2 separate regions of the Homo sapiens genome follow, and region 1 is linked to region 2. The links are contacts of gene promoters, found by promoter capture Hi-C in human tissues and cell types (Jung and others, 2019). All regions are on one chromosome and are shown on one strand. The core of a region is centred on a gene start or on the middle of the fragment in contact, and the rest is flanking DNA. Distances in the headings are between cores, read along the strand shown.

Evidence for each region. Contacts are between HindIII fragments. The study calls those that stand out against the background at their distance.
Region 1: a contact is called between a fragment that was not itself captured here and the fragment with the promoter of SOX5 in region 2, in 2 of the 25 tissues and cell types used here (dorsolateral prefrontal cortex and hippocampus).

What each region holds. Positions count from the first base shown.
Region 1 is chr12:24,566,903-24,574,209 of GRCh38, forward strand. LINC00477 (long intergenic non-protein coding RNA 477) reads right to left here. Exons shown (of 4, transcript NR_029451.2): 2 at 4,632-4,755; 3 at 760-887; 4 at 62-306. Among named protein-coding and RNA genes, the nearest start is that of LINC00477, 14 kb to the right of the region's middle. The HindIII fragment of the contact is 5,695 bases long and covers 2,810-7,307 here.
Region 2 is chr12:23,945,937-23,953,613 of GRCh38, forward strand. SOX5 (SRY-box transcription factor 5) reads right to left here and starts at 3,734. Exons shown (of 15, transcript NM_006940.6): 1 at 3,628-3,734. The coding sequence starts at 3,665. The HindIII fragment of the contact is 5,378 bases long and covers 1,172-6,549 here.

The DNA.
Region 1 (7,307 bases), core at 4,407-6,906, 620 kb after region 2:
CCTCCAACGTATTTGGAGATATTCATGGACTGCTAGGAGATATTAGGAGTATACAATGTTTGACCTTAGCCTATTTTCATAAGGCTCATTTTGAATTTATTCGGTCATATACATTAAAAATAGCAGAGACAAGTTACTTGGGAATCCTAAAGAAGAAAGAGGGATCTTAATAAGTATGAAATCCTGTGACGGCTGGGCGCGGTCGCTCATGGCTGTAATCCCAGCACTTTGGGAGGCTGAGGCGGGTGGATCCCGAGGTCAGGAGTTCGAGACCAGTTTGGCCAACACAGTGAAATCCCATCTCTACTAAAAATACAGAAAATTAGTTAGGTGTGGTGGCGGGCGCCTAAAATCCCAGCTACTCAGGAGGCTGAGGCAGGAGAATCGCGTGAACCAGGGAGGCGGATGTTGCAGTGAGCCGAGATCACACCATTGCACTCCAGCCCTGGCAATAGTGTGAGACTCGGTCTCAAAAAAAAAAAAAAAAAAAAAAAAAAAATCCTGTGACATAGGAGATAGAGGGAAATTTAGGTGATACAAGAGACCAAATATGTCATCTTAATGGTTATGAATTATCCATTTTTATATTTTTCTAAATTAGGGTAGTTTGTCAACCCTTACTCTGTTAGTAAGAGAGTAACATATAACGTTACGATGTCAATTTTAAGTTTAGCAGTTATGGGCCCAAACACTGATACCCTTCAAAGGAACCTTAAAATACTTTTTTATAAGAGTCCCCGATGAGACAGGTTTATTTACCTGTCTCGTCAAATGCAATGTCCATATCAAATTTTGAAAGTGAGCTTCTCAAAACCAGCCAGTGTTGAAAAAGTATTTTGAGATCTTCTTCTCTTGCTCCTTCTCTTCTAAAATATTTAAGGGATTATCTAAGGAAGGAGAAATAACTGACAATAATCTTCCTTGGGCATTCTTAATCCCCATAACATCTGAGATATAGACATCGAAACTATTAACTTTCCTGGGTCTACTGTACCTCTTCGGAAAAACTGAAAAAGGCACCCTATACCTAACAGATGCCACACATTAAGCTCTTACTGAAAAAAACAAAACAAAACAAAACAAAACTTTTAAAGCCCTATTACAGATACATATGTTTTCATTTAAAAACTACTATGAAATCGAGTGTTCTTTTATTTAAACATCCCCCTGTGGTTCTACAAATTAAGGATCGGTAGTACTATATTAACAACGGAGAGCCAAAACCAACTGAACTGGTGAAAAACAGTTGGTAAAACTGCCAACACTGGTTTTGTTGCCGACGTTGACTGAAATGGGAGGCAGCATATATACTAAAGAATGAATTCTAGTTTTTAAAACTTTCCGATTTTTGTATGCATTTAGAAGAAACTCCTCTTTAGCCACAGTTTTGAAAAGTGGAAATAATGTATAAAACCCAGATACTTTGCACAACCAAAACCACAGTCACATTGCTCTTATTATAAGTGAAAAGTGTTTATTACTCTGATTGTTAAATTTTTTCCTTCCTGGGAGAAAAACCAGACGGAAAAACAAAATTGGTTCTATTCAAGTGAAACAACACACAGTCGCCACATCTTGTCTCTTAATTTACTGGTTTTCAGTTCTACTTCTTTCCTTTAATTTAAAAAAATGAGTATATAATGTGGGGGAAGTAGTTTTACACGTGTACTTTTTTTCAATATGTGCATTTGTTTCAGACTTAGCTTACACAATATATTCTGTGTTCTCAGTTGCTATAAAATGTTATCATAAATATATAGAGGAGGTTTATATGCAATGAGATACCTTGATTTTATTTATAAAGAAAAGAGGAATGATTCATATGCTTCGCTGCTTCAAAACTGGTAACAGAACTAATTGTCAAGCAGGGAAATAATATTTTAAGCTTGGGTCCCAGTAGGGTTTAGGTATTTGGGTCTGTGAACTCATGATAACTCCTGTTTCTGTTACTTCTTTATAATTTTTGGTATCAAATATAATTTTGGTGGTACCAAATTTTTGCAACATGGTATCACCAATTGCATTATATGATATGTGAAATATGGTGAACAAATGAAAGCTCAAGAAAAGCACATAAAACAAAGAGGGTGTTTAAAAATATCACTTAAACAAATGTCCTTCTTATTTGAATCTCAGAAAATTATTTGAAGAGCAAATACATTTTTAGTCTCTAAGTATCTGGGACTTCTAACCCCTACTTTCTTATGATGCTCATCAAATTCAGAACTTCATTCATGGGTTGATTTTTTAAAAAAGAATAAATTAAGTGTTTCCATTCAGACTAAACTGTTTTGCACGCACAAAATGGCTACTATCCAGGTAGTTTTGCTCCAGGACAGAGTAATCAATTGGATCACTACTCCACTGACCAGATTTGGTCATGAACCACTTCTATTTCAGCCATCTCTTTGACCATGTGACAGGTCCAGTAAATTTTCAGCTATATTTAATATTTTTTACCTAAGCAAGTAAATGATCAAACTCTTATATAATAAAAAATATTTGAATCCTGCTGGCAGCTTCTGAATGCTGAGTGTTTACCTGGACATAGGGGCTAACAATGCACTTTTCTGCCTTCCTACGGCAGGAAATTATAACATAGAAAGCCTTGTAAATTTTCCAATCCAAAAAAAAAAAAAACTGAAGGAAATAGTGACAAGATTTATCCAAAACAAGATGAGGGGCAAGGGACATAAATGATAGGGACATAGACAATACCATAAATGAGTATGGTATTGTCTGTGGAAATAAAAATTGCTTTAAGTTGGTTATCCAATAATATACATAGCTGAAAGATCTAAGAATGTTGAATTGGCTTGAAAGAAAATGAGAAGAAATCCTCAAAGTAACATCTAATAAAGGCTATTTTTGCAAGGTCTAGGTCTACATGCACAAAACACAAGAGAATCTGGATTACACAGAAAAACAACAAAACTGACTAAACCATTGGAAATAGAACCAACAGGGAAGGAGGAGACAGATGAAGCGTGATTGAATGACTTCTCTGCAAATCGTTTGAGATAAAGGTATTAACCAGCTGTTCTCCAACTTCAAAGAGAATAGAACTAGACATAATGCAGAGCCTGGAATAGAAGGTAGAAGACCCGGAGATGAATTCCAGCTTATTGGAAATAAGAGTTATGGATCTTTGTTACAGTTTTAAATTAAAATAACTGTGAAAATGAGACAAAAGGATAAGAGATCAGGGGAATAAAATGGAGCCACAAAAGGTACATCCCACTTTAAAATTCTGTATCCTTATTAACATGATTTATAGAAGACCTAGTTGTGCCAGGGACTGTGCTAGATTTGAGCCACACATTTCACTTCAACCTCTCTAGCAGCCAAAAGGAAGAAAAAGTGTCCATTTCAATATTTACAATTGTTAGGGAGAAGCCCAATTATTCCTGAAACTAAGACCAAACCAGAACATTTTACTGGGGGCCTTCTCAAGGACACTGAGTAACATTAAGACAAACTTTCTATCAGTGAAAACAGTAAAGAGTTTCTGAGGACCATTTCTTAGATTCCTATAAGGAGAGACACTCCTCTATGGGTCTCGCCTGCTGCTGCAGGTCATGCCAGGTAGGCCAAGAATGCAATGACCTGACCACTCTTTACCCAGGCCGTTTCTCAGGGTTATGTTTGCAGTAATCAAACTTGGAGGGATAAGATAATGTCTCCCTCCAAAACAAAGAGTAGATGCTTGCTATAAAAGCATCAGATTCTCCAAGCTTGGCTATTCATCTGCCATGTGATCCCACCGTGTGTATAGCCTGTAATGCTTACCATTCCTTAGCATACCATGTTTCTCTTTCCCTGACAGCAACTCTGGGCCATTCTGTTCAGTCCATTCCTTGGGTGCAGCCCAATCAAAAGTGGGCCTAGGGGATTCAAGTTTTAATTCTGCTAGGATTATCTCTTGGGTTTAACAAGGTCATAGATCATAAGAACGATGACCACCTGGTTTAGTACACTGTTCACTGAGCTCCCCTACATGGCCCACATGGGTCAAAATGGGGAGCATAATGGGTCTCTGTAAGTTTTGTGAAAATTCATTGTCTCATGTGTACCTCTTCCTTCCAGACAAAAAACCTAAGTCTGGGTCAGAGGTGATTAGGGAAAAGGAAAGCTCTAACTGTTGGAGTGGACACATCAGTTTTGTGGCTGTGAAAGAAGAACAGCTCCCACACTTGGAGAGGGAATGGCCCAGACATAGAGAGAGAACACCTCAGACCAGGAAAGGTGCTAGGTGTGAGGTAGGAACAATTAATGCTCTCTTTGTCCCAGTACCACAGCCTTGCAAGTAATCACATGGTCTGCTTGAGGCAAAAAGCTAAAGCCGGCAATATGACACGCTGCTGGTTCATCATCCCCATCTCTATGCTATAAAATCAGAGAAGCTCATGAGGACCTGGCTGGCCCCAAACTGTTCATTCTGCCATCAAGACAAGCTTCAGGCCGGGTGTAATGGCTCATACCTGTAATCCCAGTGGCTTGGGAAGACAAGGTGGGAGAATTGCTTGAGCCCAAGAGATCAACACCAGCCTGGGCAATATAGGGAGACCCTGTCTCTACAAAACAACAACAAAAAAAGTTTTAATTAGGAGGATGTAGAGTCACATGCTTACAGTCTTAGCTACTGCAGGCCTTAGCTGAGGTGGCAGGATCCCTTGAGCCCAGGAGTTCGAGGCTGCAGTGAGCTATGACCATATCGCTGCACTCCAGCCTGGACAACAGAGTGAGACACTGCCTCTAAAAACAAAAGAAAAGAAAGAGAGAAGCTTCAAACATAGACTCCTCTTGAATATGTACAAACACACAGATTGACACAACCTTGTTTCATTCTGGCTGATAAAAACTCATCTGCTTCTCCTGGTGCCCTAGCATCCTTAGGTTATGCCATGTGTAACATCAAGGCTGCAACTAGTTGGTAACACTACTCAGGTGGCTTAAATGAAACAAGGTATTGGTGATCCAAATCAAATTTCACAACACATCCCTGACTGCTGTGACCTGTGTTTTTATGCAAGGGAAAGTGAGCCATGAATGTCTCTCCATTACAAATGAGGATTGTTTTATTGGTAATTCCCTGTAGTTATGGACAACAATACCAAAGATCATTTAAACTTCTGTGAGTAGTAATGGATAATTGACTGAATTTATACTACATCCTGGCTGTCTAACATAAGACATACTGGTCCCCCTAAGATTTACTCAGAGATGGTTGAAACTGGGACCCTCTGAGGCTTGGATGAGGTCTATAGAGACTTCTGGTTGGCCTCATACTACTGCTTAAAGTTTGGTTAATAGAACCCTTTAATAAGTGCTATACAAAACAAATTGAACAGATTTGTTCCCAACCTCTGTAGGTCAAGTTCATCAGAGTGACCAACAAAGTGGTATACTCATAAAAATTCACTGGAAGCTAATCCTGCACAGGATTGAGGGATGAATTGTTTTAAGAAATAGTCCTCCTATAGGCTTTTGCATCCCTGCTCACCTTGTTGGGCCTGCCAAAAATGCAATGCCCCAATTGCTCTTTACCCAGACCATTACTCAGATTGTTTGCAGGCAGCAACCTAGAGGGTAAGTAATGTCTCCCTCCCAGGCAAAAAGCAGACTTGCTTACTGCTTTCCATTCAAATGGTGGATTCTCCAAGCTCAATGTCTCCCCTGAGGAACCAATGCAAGCATAATGATGCTCATGCTGCTTGCTCTGCCATGGGCGATAGTCCTTTGTCTGACTCAGGAATCTCATATGTTCTGTGGCAACATCCATGAAACCATGGTAGGCAGACATATCAGCTTGTAACAGGAGGGTAAGATCAAGTCCCAGTCCCTTAAGAAATGTCATGCCAGAACACAGTCCTGCATCATCAATTACTAGGGTTCCCACCCTCCACCCCAAGTACTTCCTTTGTGTTGGTCCCAGGTACTTTGTAAGCCCCAGAAGTTGTAGTTATTTTTTGCTGTTGTTGTCATCTTATACAAAAGCCATCTGTGAATGATATTTTTAAGGAGTCCTGGAAGTAATTTTTTTTTTTTTACCCTTTCAGCTGGATTGTCTGGCTTACAAGAGAGGTACTACTAATTGCCTACCTAATATCTATTTTCCTCTTTTCATTAAGAGAGTCATGATTTTGTTTGGGTCAATAGTGTGTCCAGCTAACATCCTATGCTTCCAGGTCTCTCCCACAGCTGGAGGTGGCCAAGGGTCACAATTCTTGCCAATGAAAAAGTCTCTAAGTTGGGCTTCTATTAAAGCTCTTCAAAAGGCAAGCAGACTTAGCACATGCTTTTGCCCTTCCCCTTCTTCTTGCCTGAAACATGGGCATAATGTTAGAAGTTAGAGTAGCAATTTCACGGCTAGGAGTGACAAGTGCACGCTAAGGATGGCTCAGAAGGAATAAGGAAGTGACCTGGATTCTAGAAGTGATTAGAAAGTTTCCCAAGACCCATTGACTGCCTACCTCTGGACTTCTCATTTTGGGAGGCAAATAAAACCCTTATTTTTGGGCCAATATTTTGCTGTTTTCTGTTACCTGTAACTGAATGCAGTTATTAAGCTTTATAGATAGATACATATTTTTCTTTCAATATAGCATCTTCCTCATCTTCTGAAAATCTCTATTTTTTAGGGGAGTGGGTTTTCCCACTGCTTTAGTTGTATGGTCCTTTTCTTTCATGTTCTTCCTTGAAGATAGTGATTGGTTGAGGACTGAATATAAGATCTAAACTTGTCTCTTCAATAGTATGGTTCAATAGTATAGTTGCTCACCCCCCAGGGCAAGTGACTGGGAAAGAAGTGGACTCACAAAACAAACTGGCCAATCAGAGTCTTTACTGGTTTTTGTTTGTTTGCTTTTATCTGTAGCTAGGAGAAATAGCTTTTTCTTCCCTCAGGCCCCAAGCTGTGAGGATGTAAGCCCAGGAGCTGCTGTCAGCCATGAATCCAAGTTTATGGAGGCAACCAACCTAAAAGAATGAGTCAAACACACAGAAAGAGAGGGAGAAAAGTTCTGAGGGCATTTGAGCCCATTATTCCAGCTCAAGAGGTCATCTGAGCTGCCTTTCTATTGTTCCTTTTTTGGTTCTTCCCTTAATTTTGATCCACTCTAGTATCTTTCCAATAGATTTCATGAATTTTATTTGACTCCAGTTAGCTTAAGTTCAGTTTTTGCCATATGCTAAAGAATAGTAACTGATATAAAGGGGAAATGAAAAATGATATAAGAACACATAGAGAGAGTACCTAACTCAGACTTGGTGAGAGCAAGGAAGTTTTCTGGAAGAAATTCCATCCA
Region 2 (7,677 bases), core at 2,484-4,983:
TCAGAGAGTAGTTTTCTGCAAATGTCTAGCAGTAGCTTTTCATGGGAATTTTACGAATTAGTTTGTAACAGCACCTGATATATATTTCTTTCTTCAGAAAAACACTGAAAAGTGTCCTAATAAGAAAAAAATTATTTAGTCAGCATGACCAGAAATAAATTTGATGGAAATGTGAAGTAAATAAGTTAATTTTTATTGCAGAAGGTTTTACTATTGTAGTGTTCCTTTCAACATGTAGAAAATCTGCTGTCTGTTGTCTGCACCAATTTGGGAGAAGCAATCAAATAGGTGATACTAACAACCTAATTTGCATAATCCCACTACTTTCAATCCCAACTTTTTTTCTCCTTTCTAGACATTATCAGAACTGTCTTCTTAAGCAATCGTCTTACACTTGCTATTTAAGTTTCTAACATAAAGCAATTAGAAACTGTAACGGGAAGCTTAGACACAAAACTATTATGTTACAACCAAAGAGGACAGATAAAATTAAAAGGAAAGAAATAGAATATTGAGAAACTATCAAAAATGGACATTTTTACTTATCATGAACAAACTAATATTGACATTTAAGGCAAATATTTTCTTTTCATCCTTGAAATATCAAAAAGTAGGTGACATTCTCAAAGGAAAACCTTAAGTCACAATTTTTCATTATCTACTTTCAGTTAAATATATAAATTTATTGACTTCTTTTAAAAATGTGGGGAGACTTCGGGCGTTCATTCTAATGATGCTATTACTCACATTTAGACCATGTTGCCAGCTATGTTTCCTTTAAACGGTAAAATGTAGAAGACTTTCCTTACAAATAATTTTTTAGAATATATACACCCATTTGCTTCCCACCTTGGAGTTGTGTTTTTCAGTAATCATAATCAGTTTATCACAAGAATGCTTGAAAATAAAAATATTTCAAGTTCTTTACCTTTTAGAATCACTGTTCTATTTGCACTACCTCCTGCATATTTTTAACAGACAATGAAATTGTTACTACTTCTTAACTATTTAACAACTGCTTATTAGTCTGAGAGTACTGACCATGTTCATTTCTAGGGATGATAATATAGACATATACAAATCTAAATCCAAATTTTGATCCTGATATTTAAGTTCTGAATATTCCTTAAAGTTCAAATAGTCTACAGGCTGGGAAGAATAAAAGATGGACAAGACTCTACCAATGAAATTAGTAAAAATGATCACATAAAACTTTTACAGTACATGAACCCTAAGCAATTTATTATGTCCTCTAGATCAAAGTTCTCTATTTCACAAAGAAATTTAGAAGTCTTCTTTTAGATTTCTAAGTTTAAGTGGGAAATTCATCTATAGCAAGTGACCCAATAGAATAAAAATTAACAGTCAATAGAAATGACCTATTTATTCAATGAAAGTTGCAAATAGTTGAAAAGGCAAAAAATCTAATTATATGTGATAGTTTAGTTACATCATAAATACCTCCTTTGAAGAATATAAATATTCAATATTGTGTCTACATGATACACTGTATCATGCATGGGTGCCTATAGAGACACTCACCCGTACAAATTCAATGTAAACAAATAGTAATGATTTGCTGAGATCTTTGTATGTATTACCAATTACAACCACAGGGGAAATTATTAAGGAACGTTATATTGTGTGACATTTTTCAGAATTATTTTAGCTACTAATATTTCTAAATATGATAGTCATACTAACAACCCTATTGATTATCACTTGCTTATTTAATTAGCTAGTTAGAAAAGCATGCCTCTGGGTGAAAAAAAAAAATGAAATTCCCACCAGGAGGAAAAAAGATGTTAACAGATTTGAGCATCAGAATAGGAAAGGGAAAAGTTTAGTTTAAAAAGAGATAATTGAAAAAAAAATACAAATAAAGTTCACAGCAGGAAGCTTGCCTATATAGAGAAATAGGCTACAGCCTGTTAATATGTAACTACCTTTTTATAAGTACAATCTGTTAACAGGCTTACAAATCAGCCTCAGAGTTGTATTTGCAAAAAGTATAATTAGAATTAAAGAATATTATCATTTAAGTGCTACTCTGTGCATTCTAGAAAACTTAACTGTGTTAAATTAGCAAATCGCTACATTAGGTAATGTACAGTATGTTCCACTATGAATAACTTCAACATCTACCTATGATATAAGGCTATATTTGCAAATAAAAGCTCACTAATTAAAGAGTTAATATATAGAAGTGAAAATTTTAATTCAAAACTGTTAAGAAAGCTCAAACATTCGCTGGAATTATCTAGTAAAGATGCAATTTAATTATTAAAAAAAAAAACACAGAAGAAATCAAAGAAAGATGACAGCACCGAAGTATATGTGTTGGCTATTTTACTTTCTTCCCTGATTTGATACTGGCTTTTCTAATATGTGACCACATTCAAGCGTTACTTTATCCTCAATACTCTTTTTCTCTTCCATTGCTTCACTTCTAGAATGTTTTAATCTTTGTCCTTTCTTTTTTCGTCTTTTCATATCAAATTCAGTCGTTTGAGCGATGAACAGCTTGACTTAGCATATTTTTAACCAGCTGGTCTAGCACCTAGCTTGCATTGCATAGTCAGATACAACAAATGTTTATACAGAAGGTAGCTTTCATGAAAATGAAAAAAAGCCTGGGTATCATGCATCCTGGCTTTTTTTAGCTTTTTTTTTTTTAATTCACCATACAGAATACAAAGTTTGAATTCTTTTTAATGGCAAACAAAATTCTATTTATAGTTCAAAAAAATGAACTTATGCTGGGATAAGAACTCAAATTTAAAAATTGCAATGTGTACTTATAGGAACATTAAGAGGGCTAAAATTCTTTCAAAGCCCTGCTTTACTTGCAACAACATCAAATAAAAGGATGCTGCAGATATTTCTCTAAATAGGAACAACTTAATTACAAATACACTATTCCCATCATAGCAAAAGGGGAAAATACAGTAAATTAAAATTCAGTCAAGACAGCTAACACAAAAAGTGGCCACTAAAACTTAGAAAGGGAACAGCTCCATTTATCCCCTTTTCGCCCCTATTTTTGACACTTAGGGAGTAATCTAATATAGCGATGATGTTAAATTTTCTTTGGGGGGAAAAAACGCTCTCTTATATCAACAAAAGGTCATGTGCTTTACTGAGCAGCTTCCAAAGTTTTACGGAAGGATCAAATAGGAACTTATAGCCTCCGTTTAAAGCACCACTAAAACCTTCTGTCACCCTAGAAATTACATGAGACAGAGATGCTGAAAATGGTAACATTCTGCACAAAAGCGTTTTTAAAAGGTGGGGAGAAAACAATCAATGAAGGAAGAAAGTAAGAGAGTGAATGAGAAAGACAGAAGCAGCGAGTTGGGGAGAGAGAGAGAGATGCTTAAGGTTCATTTAATTTGCTGTTATAGGACGCAACCTAAAAACATTAGCAGAAATCTCGGAGACTTTGCAAATCAGTTCAGTTTGGTCCGGGCAATCACAACAAAAAATCAGCTAACAAGATTGCAGAAGCCCTAGCTAAAGGCTTCTCTAACAAACACGTTTTGGGGGAGCATCTTCCAATGATTCAGAGACTACTGTAAAATGGGAGAGTTGTACTTCAATATATTAGGGGGAAAAAACTGTACTCACCTTTCAAACTCCTGAGGTAAATCAGGGTCAGTAAGCATGCTGGAAAAGCACAATTTCCCTTTGTCACAGCAGCCACCTATGATCGTCTCCAACTGAACCTGTCAAGTGAGTCCAAACCTTCTAAACCAATTGATTTTCTCTCTGTCTCTTCCCCCCCTCCCTCCCTCCCTCTCTCTCTCTCTCTCTCTCCCTCTCTCTCTCTGTCTCTCTCTCTCTCTCTCTCTCTCTCTTTCTCCCCCCCTCCTTCCCCTCCTCTCTCTCCTAGGACTCCTTGACCAGTCTCTTAAAGGGGTAGTGCACTTCCAGCAGCGGAGTCTGGCTGCTCCCCCCTCCGCGGAGCCACACGCTCCGGCTGCAAGGCTCTAGACAACCTCAGGGTGCCTGTCCTTTCCTTTTAATTCTCTCTTCTAGACATCACTGAATGTGAGAAGTCAACTCATTTAACACGTCTCCCATACTCTGTCTTCTAAATCATAAAACTCACACACACACATACACACGCAGAACAGTATGATTTTGTAAAACGTATTTGCTGCTGATTAAAAACCTAGTCTATATAATAACAGAAGCTCGATTAAACTGCATTTATTAACTAATTAAGCAAAAAATTTAATGTTAGTAATAGCATTTTTACACAAAGAATTGTTATTCCTTCTCACCCTTTTCTAGGCTCTCTCCGTTCACACACGGAAATACACGCACACACACACACACACACTCACACACACACAACAATCAGGCATTGTTCTGAGGGAAGAAAAGCAACTTTGACAGATTGAAATATAGCAGAGGCCCCTTCAAGGAAACCTGTAAACAACTTGTCACTCACTCTGTCGGTCTCACTGTTAGCTCGTGCTTTCCGCAAAGTGGTGCGAACGTCCTGGCAACCCGACCAAAGTTTCCTCAGCTCTAAACTCCATAAAACACGATGTGCGATGTGGAGGGGAATAGGTATCCACATGCCAAAATAACATACACGAGCGAACAAAAACCCAAAACGAAATCAAAACATAAAAACAAAAAGACGGTACTAACAAACTGTCCTGTTTGGGATCGCTGGGGAGGTCAGGAGTAGGAAGCGCCCCCCTGGCTGTGGATCTCTTTAATTTCCTCTGCCCAGGCAGCCACAGATAACAAGGTGGACAAACTATGGCTTTACAGATTCTAAGCTGGCTGGCAAGGCACAGCCTCCATAGCAGTTCCAATTATCTAGATAAAAATCTGGCAGCCGAGAAAGGTAATCAGGTAATGTACCTTTGACACGAAATGACAGAGGCACATACACACAGAGAGAGAGACACTTACACAGACATGCATGCAGAGATGGTGGCTGCCCCGTGCACCGCAGCATCTGGTCAGGGAGTAAGCACACACTTACCAACAGGAGATAGTGTGCATTCTTCACACACGCATGCACACACACACACACACACACACACACTCACTCACGCACGCTCTCCACTCCTACTGGGAGGGTTCATTCTGCACAAAAGGCTACATTACAGAGCCCGCCCCAATAAGGGAAAGAGAGGAAAAAAAAGCCTTCCATTGTTGAGAGGGCAGGTCAGTTGATTAGATTTTCTGTGGAGAATTCCACGAGGAAATTCCCTTCAAAGCCGAAGTGATTAACTGGGGGCTATTCTGGAAATGGAGCAGACAATGGCTCAATAGTCTGTACAGCCAATGTCCAGGCTGGCACTGAACTCACTTAAAAAAAAAATAAAAGCCAGACTCCCTGTTCTTTTCCACACATTCCTCCCCCCCAACCCCCTCCACTCCTTCCAACTTCCCCTCCCAATTCCTTTTATTTTGCAGCTGGACAACATTAAGGGCCTTTAAAACCACAAGGGTTGACCCCACGGCAGTTTGATTAGGTCCCACTTTTTTTTCTGGAGACAGGCAAACAGTAAGTTTACTTTTTTAGACATTCACAGTGATACATCATACACATATTCCAAAGAGAAAAAAATCAATTATGAACTTATATTAGTAAATTTATTTTTCATTCAAAGCTTATAAATTTTTAGACAAGTTGATAATAACTTAATATTTAATTCTATCATCAGGAGATGTTCTAAAAATATATATATACACACACACACACTACAAAATCAATGTGGAATAAGATTTAAGCATGTCACTATGGAGTTAAGACACTAACAAAACATAGAACTATGACCCACCCTGAAAAAGCTGTTAACAAGGGATGTGGCAAAAATGACTTGATGCTGACATGATTTTCACTTTCAGCAGTTGGGGAAGGGGGGAAGAATATTACTCACTATTCTTTCTTGTTGTTAGTCTCAAATTATTTTTTGTTACAGCAACAACCTACTCCCACACAGAAAAATGAAAAAATTGTTGCATTTATTTTAAATCTCTATTTTTTCAGCCCTTAAGGGACCTACAATCTAATATACTCTAATGGATAATGTATACAAAAATTATATTTTTCTTCATTTGTTAATGGTTGTTATGAGAATTAGGGTATAGTAGCTGCATAGCTATATACACTTTTAAAAATATTTAAAATTTTTTTCCTAACTAGGAAAAATCTTGCTTATCTTATATCAATAGAGAAAAAAAGTGAAGAAGGAGGATGGGTGAGTTACAGGGAGCCATGGGAGTGGAGTCAGGAAGAGGAGGAGGCGGGAGGAGAGGACGCAGAGAGAGCACAAGGAGACATAGTGGCAGCATAAAGATAGAAACAAAGATAATGGCCATAAGGCAGGATGCTGAGATCCGTATGGTCCCAGCTGCTGTCTTGCTACAGCTACTACCTCTGGTTGTTTCTTTGAAACTCTAATCTAGAAGGTCACCAGAGCAGGTAAGAAAGAGTATGAGTGTTTGAGGCCAACTATAGTATAAAGAAAAGATACTCATATTAGAATCTTCCTTATATTTGATTTTGATTTTATTGGCACTTAATATATGTATACATCTGTACATATGCCAAATAAACACAAAGAATATAGAAGAGAATGTTAAATGGTTTGAAAGTTAGTTTTTTGACTTCAATATATTCTGCAAACATTACTGTAGCCATTCAAAAGACAAATTATTTCTTGCACAATCATCTATGCTGAAGGAGTTGAAATAGACGAGGAACTAGACAGAAAATTTGCCAAATAATGATCATCCTAATAATGATAATTTGAACTAATGGAACTCTAAGATCATAAGGAATTTTGTTCACATAAATTAGCTCATGGATCTTACAGAGTAGAAAGGGGTAGGTATGTATTTCCCTAATTTTCCCACTGTTTAACTTGGGCAAACAGAATTTAAAGTCATTCAACTGGTTAGTAGCCCATTTGTTGCTTGAAGCCACTTCTATCTATTTCACTTATGACACCATAATGCAGAATAAACTGATCCTCCAGAATTTATAGTTAGATGAAAATCCCAAGATGGTACTCATACTTTAAGTGACCTGAAAGGCTTTCAGGTAATTGTTATAAAAAATAAAATTTATAAAAGCTGTCATTAAGCTAATACTGTATATGATGGTTTAATTGAATATTTTAAAATGTACCTCTCTAAGCCATAAAAGTTTTCTTTCATTTGAATCCTATATTGAAAATTAGCATTTCTGTCAGACTTTAGAATATCAGCAAAAGGAAAGACTGTTCCAAAATGTTTTGGTTAAATTTTGTCTTGGGTTATTTCATTAAATGATCAAAATGATCCAATCAATACAATGTTTAATATTAAAATACTGTTAATTGAATCTTTTAAATTTTGCATTAAACGTTAAAATGTTTAAATATTAAATATGTGTTCATGACTAGCGCATCTATTAAACCCAAATTCTTTTTCAATTATCAGAAAAGCTTAAGATATTCAATTGACTATAGATATTCTTTACATCACAACTAATACCGCAATGTGATGTTTGTTAAGGTTTCAAAATACATCTGGGTTGAGACATACTTTTGCATTCACTTAACATCTATTAAATGCTTACCAATATGTTAAGTGCTATGGCTTTAATAAAAGAATTTTAAAAAGTTATAACAATTCTAATTATATATATGTATATAAAACCAA